3 separate regions of the Homo sapiens genome follow, and regions 1 and 3 are each linked to region 2. The links are contacts of gene promoters, found by promoter capture Hi-C in blood cells and fetal thymus (Javierre and others, 2016). All regions are on one chromosome and are shown on one strand. Each heading gives the region's core, a stretch centred on a gene start or on the middle of the fragment in contact. The rest is flanking DNA. Distances are from core to core; before and after follow the strand shown.

The links. The method cuts DNA at HindIII sites, captures the fragments that hold promoters and counts their contacts. A CHiCAGO score of 5 or more calls a contact.
Region 1: a contact is called between a fragment that was not itself captured here and the fragment with the promoter of KL in region 2, in 1 of 17 cell types (M1 macrophages). The highest score is 5.1, in M1 macrophages.
Region 3: a contact is called between a fragment that was not itself captured here and the fragment with the promoter of KL in region 2, in 1 of 17 cell types (M2 macrophages). The highest score is 5.1, in M2 macrophages.

Annotation. Positions count from the first base shown.
Region 1 is chr13:32,737,839-32,741,895 of GRCh38, forward strand. It overlaps PDS5B (PDS5 cohesin associated factor B), which reads left to right. Exons shown (of 35, transcript NM_015032.4): 22 at 3,242-3,310. Among named protein-coding and RNA genes, the nearest start is that of PDS5B, 150 kb to the left of the region's middle. The HindIII fragment of the contact is 171 bases long and covers 2,259-2,429 here.
Region 2 is chr13:33,013,328-33,017,683 of GRCh38, forward strand. KL (klotho) reads left to right here and starts at 3,096. Exons shown (of 5, transcript NM_004795.4): 1 at 3,096-3,932. The coding sequence starts at 3,114. It overlaps LOC124903151 (translation initiation factor IF-2-like), which reads right to left and starts at 3,126. Exons shown (of 2, transcript XM_047430819.1): 1 at 2,509-3,126; 2 at 1-308. The coding sequence starts at 3,115. The coding sequence ends at 118. RefSeq lists enhancers at 2,700-3,275, 3,276-3,853, 4,062-4,121 and silencers at 3,132-3,201, 3,892-3,991. The HindIII fragment of the contact is 5,190 bases long and covers 1,034-4,356 here.
Region 3 is chr13:32,678,615-32,682,559 of GRCh38, forward strand. PDS5B (PDS5 cohesin associated factor B) reads left to right here. Exons shown (of 35, transcript NM_015032.4): 10 at 221-315. Among named protein-coding and RNA genes, the nearest start is that of PDS5B, 94 kb to the left of the region's middle. The HindIII fragment of the contact is 3,730 bases long and covers 516-3,945 here.

The sequences.
Region 1 (4,057 bases), core at 1,094-3,593, 280 kb before region 2:
CTCTTCAATCCTTTCTACTTCCTCCTTGTCCCTAATATCTACTCTCTTGAATCTTGGGTTAATCTGTAACAGCAACAAAATTTACCACATACTTGTTTAGTTTTGCTTGTTCTTGAGGTTTCTAAGCATTATATCATACCCTGTATAGTCTTGGAGGATTTGCTTTTATCACTCCACATTTGTTTCTAAGAATAATCTTCGTTACTAAATCTAACTGTGGTTCATTCATTTGTTACTCTATAATTTCACTGTGGAAAATATCTCGTAATTTATTTATTCTTCTAGTAGATTGTGGAATATTTCCATTTCTTTACTCTTTCGGACAGTGCTGCTATGAATGTTTCTATTGAAGCCCCCTGCTACATATGAGCAAGAATTTCTCTAGGTTTTATTCCTACGAGTGAAGTTGATGAATCACGGTATATAGACATATTTAACTTTTCACTTTTTTTAAGTCATTTTTTATAATGTTTGTTAAAACTTATTTTTCTATTAAGAAATCTGACAATAATGTTATTATACACTGTTGGGAGAAAATATCTAATAGATACAGTATCTCATTATAGCTCATTATAGTCCCAATGTGCATTTCTGTGGTTACTAATTAAGTTTGTGTGTCTAGTCACCATTCATGTTGCCTACTTTCTGAAATTCCCTTTTGATGTATTTTACCTTTTATTCCCCTTGGTGTTTTTTTCCCATAGGCAATCTGTACCTATATTAATCTTTTATCTGGTACATGTTATAGTATCATCATGAAGTGTGTAAAACCTCATTTATGTGTGTCTTTTCACTCCTTTATTGTGTCCTTTGATCCTTTGAACAAAAGTTATTCCTTTTTTTTTCTTTTTGAGATGGAGTCTCACTCTGTCACCCACACTGGAGTGCAGTGGCGCCATCTCGGCTCCCTGCAACCTCCACTTCCCACATTCAAGCCATTCTCCTGTCTCAGCCTCCCGAGTAGCTGGGACTACAGGCGCCCACCACCATGTCCACCTAGTTTTTGTATTTTTAGTAGAGATGGGGTTTCACCATGTTGGCCAGGCTGGTCTCCAACTCCTGAACTCACGTGATCCACCCAGTTCAGCCTCCCAAAGTGCTGGGATTACAGGCATGAGCCACCACGCGCCTGGCCTGAACAAAAGTTATTACTTTTAATGTAGCTGTATTTATCATTATTCTTTGGTAGTTAATACTTTTTACATCTTATTTAAGAAATCTTTTCCTACTCTAATGTCATGAAAATAGCCTCCCATATGTTCTTCTAAAACTTTGAAGGTTTTCTTTTTTTACACACACAAAAATCAATCCATCTGGAATTGATTTACTTTTTTTTTTTGTATGCTGTGATATAAGGATTTCATTTTTGCTGCATGTTAGGGTTACCAAATTTCCCAGCACTGTTTATTAAATATCTTACCATCTCCTGGTAATCTGCAGTGCTACCACTCATGTCTCCTATAGAGCCTCTGTTCTTTTCCACTGATGCGTTTGCCCATCCACAAGATGTCTTTCCTTAATGTTTTATAGTTTTCTCTAAAAAGAAAAATTTTAAATTTCTCTCACACAACTTATGTTAGGCACTAAATAAAGTTTTTAAGATTATGTTTTATGTTTATGATTGATAAGGTGAATTATTTGGTAATTCTGATTTTATATCCATCTTTCTTGCTAAATTCTAATTTTGTCAATTATAAAGAATGCCAGCTTTGATTATTTTCTAATGCTTGCATATTTTATTTCTGTATATTTACTTCCATTTTAGGTATTTATCCTTTTTCATCCTAACTTACCAGTTTTTGAAAGAGATATATTCACATATTCTGCTGTGATGAAGTATTCAATCTTCTGATTTTAATCATGTTGGTTCTGGTTTATTTTGATGTTATTCTGCTAGTTGTGTAAATGTTCATGAATTTTATATTTTATTTGGTGTTGTAAGATAAAATATATCAGTATCCCATTTAAGTCCATATCCTCTTCAGTGCTTTTCATCTTGACTGGTATATTTTTCCATCCCATAATTTTCAGATTTCTTATGTTGTTTGTTTTTATTGTATCTTTTGTGGCTTTATTATTTATAAATCTACCTGATAGTCTCTGTTGTTTCTGGTAGTATCTGATAGTTTCTTATTTATGTAAGGTTTTTGTTTTCATTTTTCTTTGTATTTGTAATAGTTTATACTAATTTAGTTTTTTCTTGTGAATTAAATAGTGTTATCTTTGAGTAATTCTTTCAACATGGATTGTAATTTGGAAGCTTTCTGTCTTGAATTCTAGTGTTCATTCTTCAGTACTGTTTTTTGGATATTAGAATTCTGTGTTTCAAGTCACTTGAAAATTCAGAGCATTGTTTTTTTGGCATCTGGTCTTGCAGCTGAGAAATCTGAAGTTAATCTTTTATTCCTTTTTGGTAGTTTCTTTATGGAAGCTTTTGGGATCTTGACATCCTTAGTTAGAAATTTCATCACAAGGTGCCTAATGTGATTCCTTTTTCATTATTTTTACTTCATACTTTGAAGGCACTTCTCAATGGAAGAAATGAGTTATAAACTGTGTGTGAATCTGTAGCTCTTTGTGTTTGAGGGAGTTTGCCTTTTTAGATGTTGGGGGCTACCTGTTTTGTTACCAGAGGGTTACCTGAGGTGATATTCAATTCCTGTTCTTTGACCTGAGGGTAAAAAATGGGATCTCAAGTGTTCCAAGATTGGTTCAGCTCTTTTGCCATCTTATTTTAATTTCCTGGTTACTACTGTAAACACCTACCTGCTAGTACTTGCACATGATCACCTCAGGATTAGTTTGGAGTTGTGCTGAAAACAAAAACAAAACCCCTCCAGCTCAAGATTTTTTTTTTTTATACCTTTCTTCTTGTTTAAGAGCTACACCTTTTGGCTCCATGTTTTTTTAAAATCCTAGTTCTTGCATTAAATAATTGAATCTCAAAAGGGGCTAAATAAGGGAGTGATGTGTAAGAAGTTAGAGTTAGTCCCACCACAGACCTAGAAAGAACCAGTCGTGATGGATCTATAAGTGCTGTACATAGGCGCTAGTGAAGGTATGCCTTTCAACCTTTTTTTTTTTTTAAAGTAAATAGGGTTAGATGAAGTACTTTAGTCATATATAACAAATGTCACTGCAGAAGGTACAGATTTCATTCATTTTCTAAGTGCTAATTGAAAAGAATTCATATTTACATTTTAAAGTCCCTGGTTTTTTTTTTTTTCTCGTTTATTTTTAGCTTCCAGGGAAAAAGACAACTAAACTTTGGGTTCCAGATGAAGAAGTATCTCCTGAGACAATGGTCAAAGTGAGTAATGTGCATAGATCTATTGATTTTAATATAATCACCACATTGTAATATTTGAGGTATTAAAATTTCTATTTCTATTGGAAAGATATTAAAGTCACTCAAGTATTTACATTTATTGTATGATGTCTTATGTGCTGTGAGACTATAGGGTAATAATGAGAAAGCTGGGATTTTGTGGACAGCTGCACATAATCTAATTTGAGGAGAAAAAAAGGTTTGAAAGCTGTTTCCCTGATGGCAAAAGGCAGTGCTAGTTTTTATGGACTTTCCTCTGTTCTGTAAAGATGATAGTTCAGATTTTAAGCCTATTCATCTTTTCCATGGGATTTAATAAAACTTTTTATTTTTAAAAAATTCAGCCTATAATTTATTGAATTAGGAGTTTTATAAGATTGCTCATCATTGGTATAGACTCTTGATTTATTAAAACCATCTATGGCCTGTAGTGTAGACCTCATGTCAATCCACTACCAAGATATGAAGGCCAAAAATACATACATTAAATATTGTTATTTTCTAGCTGTAATTTCTTATAAACCCTTTCAGTCTGTGTGTGTGTGTGTGTGTGTGTGTGTGTGTGTGTGTGTGTGTATTTGTTTATAGTTCGTATTACGAACTACCTTTTCACATTGTTCTAGCTGGAGGTTATGATACTAGTTTTGCAGACTTGTACAATAGCCCCACCTTTACATCAATGAATGATGCTTGATACTTTGAGTCTCAGTATAAACCTGTTTTTCTCGG
Region 2 (4,356 bases), core at 1,846-4,345:
CTGACAATTATTCTATGGGTCATTTATTAACACAGCATAATCAAACAACTTATTTATTTTCATCTTTCTTGATCCTTTCTTCAGTTGGATGTTGTCTTTGAGGGCAGAGGTTGTCCTCTATGTTTTGAAGTCTCCACACAGCTCGTCGTTGCCTTGCCCGTAGTTGTAGCTCAGTGAAATAAAAATATGTCCGTAGAAGGTGATGTCTGTGACTGGTGAGCTGAGAGCTTGTGGGGTTGGTGTTGTATTTGGGTGCATGTGAATCAGTGCATCTCCTGCTCCATTGGTGTTAAAAGGCTCCCATCGTCCTGGGAACACAATAGGAAAGAGAACAGGTGGGAAGGCACTGGATGAAGGAATGTGGAGAATGGAGGAAAAGTTGATCAGATTGTTGACAACTTTCAGTGTTGAAATTGTCACCAAAATCAAAGTCAGTAAATAAATTTACAATGTCCTTTTCTTCAATGCATCAATAACTTCACCTTCCTGTTCAAAGCACAGCAAGTAATTAATCTCTTATTTGCATTTGAAACCCAAGTTTCAGATGTTTGAAGGTGGTTGTAAAAAATAAAAACCAAAATAAAGCCAAAATAAATAAGCAGCAGCACTAGGCCGGGCACAGTGTCTCACACCTGTAATCCCAGCATTTTAGGAGACCGAGGTGGGTGGATCACAGGAGATCAGGAGTTTGAGACCAGCCTGGTCAGCATGGTGAAACCCTGTCTCTACTAAAAATACAAAAATTAGCCAGGTGTGGTGGTGTGCCCTTATAATCCCAGCTACTGGGGGGCTGAGACAGGAGAATTGCTTGAACCTGGGAGGCAGAGGTTGCAGTGAGCAGAGACCATGCCACTGCACTCCAGCCTGGGCGACAGAGTGAGACTCCGTCTCACACTTGTGGAACCCAGAACTTAGTAACCATGAACAGAACCTTAATAAACAGAAAGTTCTGGAAATAAAGTTTAATCATCATGCAATCTTTATCACTGGGTTAAATGAACAATCATCTGGGAACATGTCTTGGAATGCTTAAAGCTTTGAGATGCATGTGCCTATGTGGCAGACAAATTTCAAATGTGAAACGTTTAGTTAACTTGGTCTTGCTTTTTAATCACTGCTTTAAAATTTAAAAAATGCTGCTGGTCAAGTAAAAATAGCAATAGATAAAATCTGCCCTGAGCAAACAGACCATACATCAATAAATGAATACTTAGCTTAAGCGATTTTCCATGAGACCCATGAAGCATTTCTAATTGAAACTTAACAAGCTACAACCCAACAGACACTCCAATCTTCACTTCTAGAAGGGAAATGTGATACTCCATGTAGACGTAGCTTTTTAAATTTAGCTGGAAGACAGCGTGACAGTGAAGTTGTGTGCTGTAATTTTTTAAAATTGCTGAAGTGTCATGGTTTGCTATTTCGTATTTATTGAAAAAATGTAAATGCTATATTTAACAGAATGGCAGTAACTCTGTTTCAATCTGAAGACTTAATCTTACTAATCATGGTAATATATGCTGGCTGGAGTTGGGAATATTTCATAAAATACTGGAATAAATTTGTGCTTATATTTCAGGGGAATTAATAAAAGCACCTTCATCTGCAACATTTAAAATGTTATTGCCTTTAAATTTGTATTAAATAATGCAGGGAAGATAGATCACTGGGGGAGAATGGATGCACCTCTGTGAGGATCTTGGTCATTCAACACACGTGTACGGGTGAGGAAACTAAGGCACGACTTACTGGGTAGGGAGGTAGGGATATTAGCAAGATCCTTCACTTGTCTGGGCTTTCTGTCTTTGAGTCACCTTTGCGCAGTTTTTCACTGGACTTCACAAGCCTCTGAGGCGGCAGGGCAGACAGGACATCCTTATTTTATAGAGGAGGAAACTTAGGCTTACAGAGGTTTCCTGCCCCAAATCACAAAGGTGGAGCCTAGACCTTCTCAGTCTCCACCAACTGTATTTCGGTTAGCCACAATCCTATCTACCCACATCCAAATGGACACTGTGGCTCTGCAACTTCTGTCAAAAGGGCTCTTTGGCAACAGGAAAAACGTCATGGCTCCATTGTATTGTAGAGGATGGGAATGGGTGTTCCGGCTAAATTCTCCCTCCCCTTTCCCTCCACAGCTCAGATGGCAAATGTGCGACCCAGGGACCTCCCGCTCCAGCAGACCTGTGCGCACAACTTTGCACAGATTACCTGCTAAGTCAGAGCCGAAAGGTAACACAGATGCCAAAGGATAATAAAGGTGAATGAGATTTACTCAAAATTGGAAACTTGGTGTTTGGTTTTTCAGGAGAACAATCAACGACTGTGATTTGAAGTTCACCAGGGTATTCTGAGAGATCTAATCAAAGATAGAGTGCTGGTTTGAAATTATTAAAAGGTAACAGTAAAAGGGAGAGCAAAACCCCAGTCCCAACGCAACCCATAAATCTACTTTGTCTTCCTCGAAAGAGGGGCGCGGGTGGGCGCGTCTCCCCGCGAGCATCTCACCTAAGGGGGAATCCCTTTCAGCGCACGGCGAAGTTCCCCCTCGGCTGTCCCACCTGGCAGTCCCTCTAGGATTTCGGCCAGTCCCTAATTGGCTCCAGCAATGTCCAGCCGGAGCTTCTTTGGGCCTCCGAGTGGGAGAAAAGTGAGAGCAGGTGCTTCCCCAGCGGCGCGCTCCGCTAGGGCCCGGCAGGATCCCGCCCCCAAGTCGGGGAAAGTTGGTCGGCGCCTTTTCTCCCCGACGAAGCCGCTCCAGGGCTGCTCTCAGAGGACGCGCGGCAGGCAAAGAGAATGAACCTGAGCGTCCACGAAACGTCCTGCACGGCTCCCGGGAGCTGGGAGAAACAGGTGCCTTTCTCCGACGTCCGCGGGCGACGCCTGCCGCACCTTGCCCGCTGCCGCGCCCCTCCCGGGCACCCCTCGCCCTCGGCGCCCCTGCCCCCGCCCCCAGTGCCAGGGCGGAGGCAGTCCCGGCTCGCAGGTAATTATTGCCAGCGGAGCCCGCCGGGGAGCGGGGGTGGGCGCGCCGGCGGTGGGCGGGCGGGCGCGGCGGGGCGCGGGCATAAAGGGGCGCGGCGCGGGGCCCCGGAGCCTGGCTCCCGCGCAGCATGCCCGCCAGCGCCCCGCCGCGCCGCCCGCGGCCGCCGCCGCCGTCGCTGTCGCTGCTGCTGGTGCTGCTGGGCCTGGGCGGCCGCCGCCTGCGTGCGGAGCCGGGCGACGGCGCGCAGACCTGGGCCCGTTTCTCGCGGCCTCCTGCCCCCGAGGCCGCGGGCCTCTTCCAGGGCACCTTCCCCGACGGCTTCCTCTGGGCCGTGGGCAGCGCCGCCTACCAGACCGAGGGCGGCTGGCAGCAGCACGGCAAGGGTGCGTCCATCTGGGATACGTTCACCCACCACCCCCTGGCACCCCCGGGAGACTCCCGGAACGCCAGTCTGCCGTTGGGCGCCCCGTCGCCGCTGCAGCCCGCCACCGGGGACGTAGCCAGCGACAGCTACAACAACGTCTTCCGCGACACGGAGGCGCTGCGCGAGCTCGGGGTCACTCACTACCGCTTCTCCATCTCGTGGGCGCGAGTGCTCCCCAATGGCAGCGCGGGCGTCCCCAACCGCGAGGGGCTGCGCTACTACCGGCGCCTGCTGGAGCGGCTGCGGGAGCTGGGCGTGCAGCCCGTGGTCACCCTGTACCACTGGGACCTGCCCCAGCGCCTGCAGGACGCCTACGGCGGCTGGGCCAACCGCGCCCTGGCCGACCACTTCAGGGATTACGCGGAGCTCTGCTTCCGCCACTTCGGCGGTCAGGTCAAGTACTGGATCACCATCGACAACCCCTACGTGGTGGCCTGGCACGGCTACGCCACCGGGCGCCTGGCCCCCGGCATCCGGGGCAGCCCGCGGCTCGGGTACCTGGTGGCGCACAACCTCCTCCTGGTGAGTGCGAGGGGCCAGGCGGAGGGCCACGCAGGGGAGACAGAGGGCCTCCACAGGGGCCAGGGGGAAGTGTGGGAACTGAGTCTCCCCCAGACGAGGCTTCACTTGGACACGTGTATGTGGTCACCGGGGGAAACTGAGCAGTTCTGACTTCCCTTGGAAGGCGTGGAATTAGGAGAGAAATCCCTTAGTGGGCACACGAGTGAGTGCCCCTTGGAGTCCATCTGTGGAAAGGAAGCGGTGATAGGTTTCCGCAGTGAGGAAAGAAACTCCTTTCTCTGGGTGTAGAGGAATTCCTAGAGGTGAGGGCGGGGAGGATTTGCTAGGAGTAACTGCAGGAAGAGAATGAGCAGGGTGGATGAAAGAAACACGTTTGTTCTTAAGCCGCACAGATAGCATTACTCTCTGGAGCTGTCACGAGTTC
Region 3 (3,945 bases), core at 1,131-3,630, 340 kb before region 2:
ACATAGTTCTCACAGGAGATTGCTCTAGTTTGTATAGAGTTTCCAGAGCATTCAGACATACATGTATATCAGAAACTTTGTAAAATGGTTTGGTTCTACTTTGCATTTTCCTTCATAAACTGTTTTTTCTTTAATTAGATAAATGTAAATTGGGTACAGATTTAACACATGTCTGTTTCTCTTATTTTGAAGCTCACTCTGTGCTTTTATATTTTATCAGGTTTAATGATATCCATGTACCAATCCGCCTGGAATGTGTGAAATTTGCTAGCCATTGTCTCATGAACCATCCTGATTTAGCAAAAGACTTAACAGGTACTATATATATGTAACAGCAAATATTCTTACGTGCTCTTCAGTGGAAAAAAATAAGTTTCATAGGGGGAAAAAAAACCCCTTTTTTCGGGGGTGGTAGGTGAAGTCTTGTTTTAGTTTAAGGTCATGGAAGTTGTTCTCTGAAGCTAGATTTTTTTTTTTTTTTTTAAAATAGAGACAAGGTCTCGCTATGTTGCCCAAGCTTGCTTAGAACTCCTGAACTCAAGCTGTCCTTCTGCCTTGGTTAAATTAGTTTACCATGACTCACCTAAGTTCTTAAAATATTGAAGAACATTAGTCTTATAATCTAGTCAAAGTCAAGACCTGTTCAAATCCAAATGTCTAAAATAAGTTTAGAATTGTCCTTAAACTAAGAAACTAGTAATTGTTCCTGGAGACAGACATTTTCATAGATGCTTCCAACCTATGTAGGAACTATGCTGTAGAAATTCTAGCTTCAGGCCGAGCACAGGCCAAGGTGGGCAGATCACCTGAGGTCAGGAGATCAAGACCATGCTGACCAATATGAAACCCCGTCTCGACTAAAAATACAAAAATTAGCTGGGTGTGATGGCATGCGCCTATAATCCCAGCTACTCAGGAGGCTGAGGCAGGAGAATTGCTTGAACCTGGGAGGCAGAGGTTGCAGTGAGCTGAGATTGTGCCATTGCACTCCAGCCTGGTCAACAAGAGCGAAACTCTTTATCTCAAAAAAAAAAAAAAAATAAATAAATAAATGAATAAAACAGCAGATATTTTACCAGTTTCATCCTTTTTGGGAGACATCCCACTTGGAGCTTTCTGATTTCCTACTCAAATTTGCAGTGCTTAGACAGCTTGCTCTGAGCTTCTGCTCTACAGCATTGACCTTAGGGCCATCCATTCTTCCTCCCATCTTTGCTCTCCCCTTCCATCCTCCTCCCTTCTTTTTCCCTCCTTTCCTCTTCGTCTGTGAGTGTGTGTGTGTGTGTGTGTGTGTGTGTGTGTCTGTTTCTACACCTCCCCTTTCTCCTTCCCTTTTTCTCTGGATGTTCCTTTTTCTTTAGCATCCTTTTCTTGTGTTGCTAATACAGTATTTTCTCTGAGAGTGTCAATGGTAGGTAGTTTTTTGGGGAATTTTTCTTTTTCTTCCAAAATGTCTGTATCTGCTATTTGTTTTTTTCACCTTATATTTGCTTTTGTCTTTTTTTCCATGTTAAAGGCTTTCCTCAAATGATTGGCAATCCGAGGCCGTCTGCTCATGATTAAGAGTGGGGGGGCTAAATCAAAAGCTGTTTGGAAAGCCCTGAGTATATGCTTTCCTCAAATGATTGGCAATCTGTGGCTGTCTGCTCATGATTAAGAGTGGGGGGCTGAATAAAAAGCTGTAAACTATTTGGAACACTCTGAGTACATGGTTGGGTCTGTCAACTCTGAACTTCACTTTTGGGTGATCAGAGTGAGTTGTTTGTTGGGGAGCCCTTAGTTTAGATACTTCCTCTTCATCCTGTCAAATTTCTAATAGAAGAGTATCTTATCTAGAAGTTAAAGGTGAGTTACTAATGTGTTTGGGAAAAGAATGATGGGTTTCTGCATTCACATTTCAGATTAGTTGTCACATAATCCCCTTTTGGGTATGGTATCCATGCCCTCAACCGTTTGGGGTCCCCCAGTTTAGAGCTACTGTTTTATATTTTTATTATAGTATTTATCTCCAGACTTCTTTTGGTGTGGAATAGGGGCAATCTCCTTGATGGATTTCTCAAACAGCCTTCACCCAGTCCTTCCTTCTCTTCCTTGTTTTAAGATCCAGAAGTTCTTGTTGCTAGTTCCTATGCCTTTTGAAGAGTGTAGTGTATATTGAGTTGGTTGCTTAGTTGTGATTTTTAAATTGTTTTTTAAGAGACAGGGTCTTACTCTGTTGCCCAGGCTGATTTTGAATTTTTTTTATTGAAATATTTAAATCATGTTTTTCAGTTATTAAGTAAAACCAGACCCCTGCTTTTTTGCTGTTGATAATGTGTAGCAGTGTGCACCAATTTGATTTGTACATGGCTAAATAGAATTTCTCTTTCACTGAATTTGCTGTCATGTTAGGTTACATAGGCCGCAAAGGATTTATACTGACTGAGTAGGAGAGAGGCAGTGCTGGAAATATCCTGCCAACGTATACGTTTCCTTCTTAGGCTCATATTGGCTTCCCATCTCCTGTTTCCCAGTAGCCTTAGAGTCAGTCATTTCTTGCTTTTTAACTTCTACTCACTGTTGTTACAGATGAGGGCTTGCGGTATCTCATTCTATAGAAGATTCTTTCTTTCTCCCCTAGCTGAAATATGATGGCAGGTTTCAGAGGTTTTCACTGCTAGATAAAGTGATAAAAGTATAAGAGTAATAAAGCAATCCTTGCTTTTGTTTGAAAGAGTGAGGCTTGAGGCTGGGCACGGTGGCTCATGCCTGTAATCCCTGCACTTTGGGAGGCCGAGGCGGGCAGATTGCTTGAGGTCAGGAGTTTGAGACCAGCCCAGCCAACATGGTGAAACCCCACCTCTACTAAAAAATACAAAAATTAGCCGGGTGTGGTGGTGCACACCTGTAATCGCAGCTACCCGGGAGGCTGAGACAGGAGAATTGCTTGAACCTGGGAGGCAGAGGTTGCAGTAAGCCGAGAGATCGCGCCACTGCACCCCAGCCTGGGCGATAGAGCAAGACTCAGTCTCAAAAAAAAAAAGTGAGGCTTTGATTTTTTTTTTTAGTAGTTTCAATCACATCTTCAATTATTTTCTTTTAAACCCCATATACCCTGTTCCATTTTACGTTTCTCCAGCTTCATTCCTGACTAGCAGGATCATTTCACTTTATCCGTGTGAACCTTATACTGTAGTGCTTCTCAACCTTATCAGACCCAGTACCTCCCTTTTTAAGCAAATAATTTGTAATTCTCCCTTTGAGATCCTTAAATAAAATGAATAGATAAAACAATCCACTTAAAAAGTTAAAAAATTAATTGCCCTATTTGTAATATACAGGAGAAACAAAAGGGAAGTCATTTATAATAAAGTAGTATATATTGTAATATTTAAATGTTTGGATATGACATACAGAGATAACATGCCTCCACAAGTTTCTCACTTAATTATTCTCTGCCACAGGGGTATATGGAAAGCTCTGTGAATCCTAATTGATAAGGTATTTGGATGACTACCTGAACAGCTAACTCAGATTTATCCATATTTTAGAGAAAATATCAGAGTCTGTTCTACAGTTTCCTTTTTTTTAACTTAAAAAAAGTGTAATTAGCTTAAAATATACAGATCCTGAGTGTTCAGTTTGATGTTTGAAGAGAGTGAATTTCCATGATGCCAAAAAGTCCCCCTGTATCCCCTTCCAGTTAGTTCTCTCACCATTTTCTGGTTTCTATTTCTGTAGGTTAGTTTTGCCTGTTTCTGAATTTCATATATGTTGAATCATACAATGTGTACTATTCTTTTTGAGGGTGGGGAATGGAGAGAGATCTGGCTGCTTTCACATAACATGTTTTTGAAATTTATCCTGTTTTGTTAATTTATTCTTTATTATTATTCCGTTGTATGAATATACCATAATTTGTTTACCCACTTCTTTTGATGGTTATCTGGGTTGTTTCTGATTTGG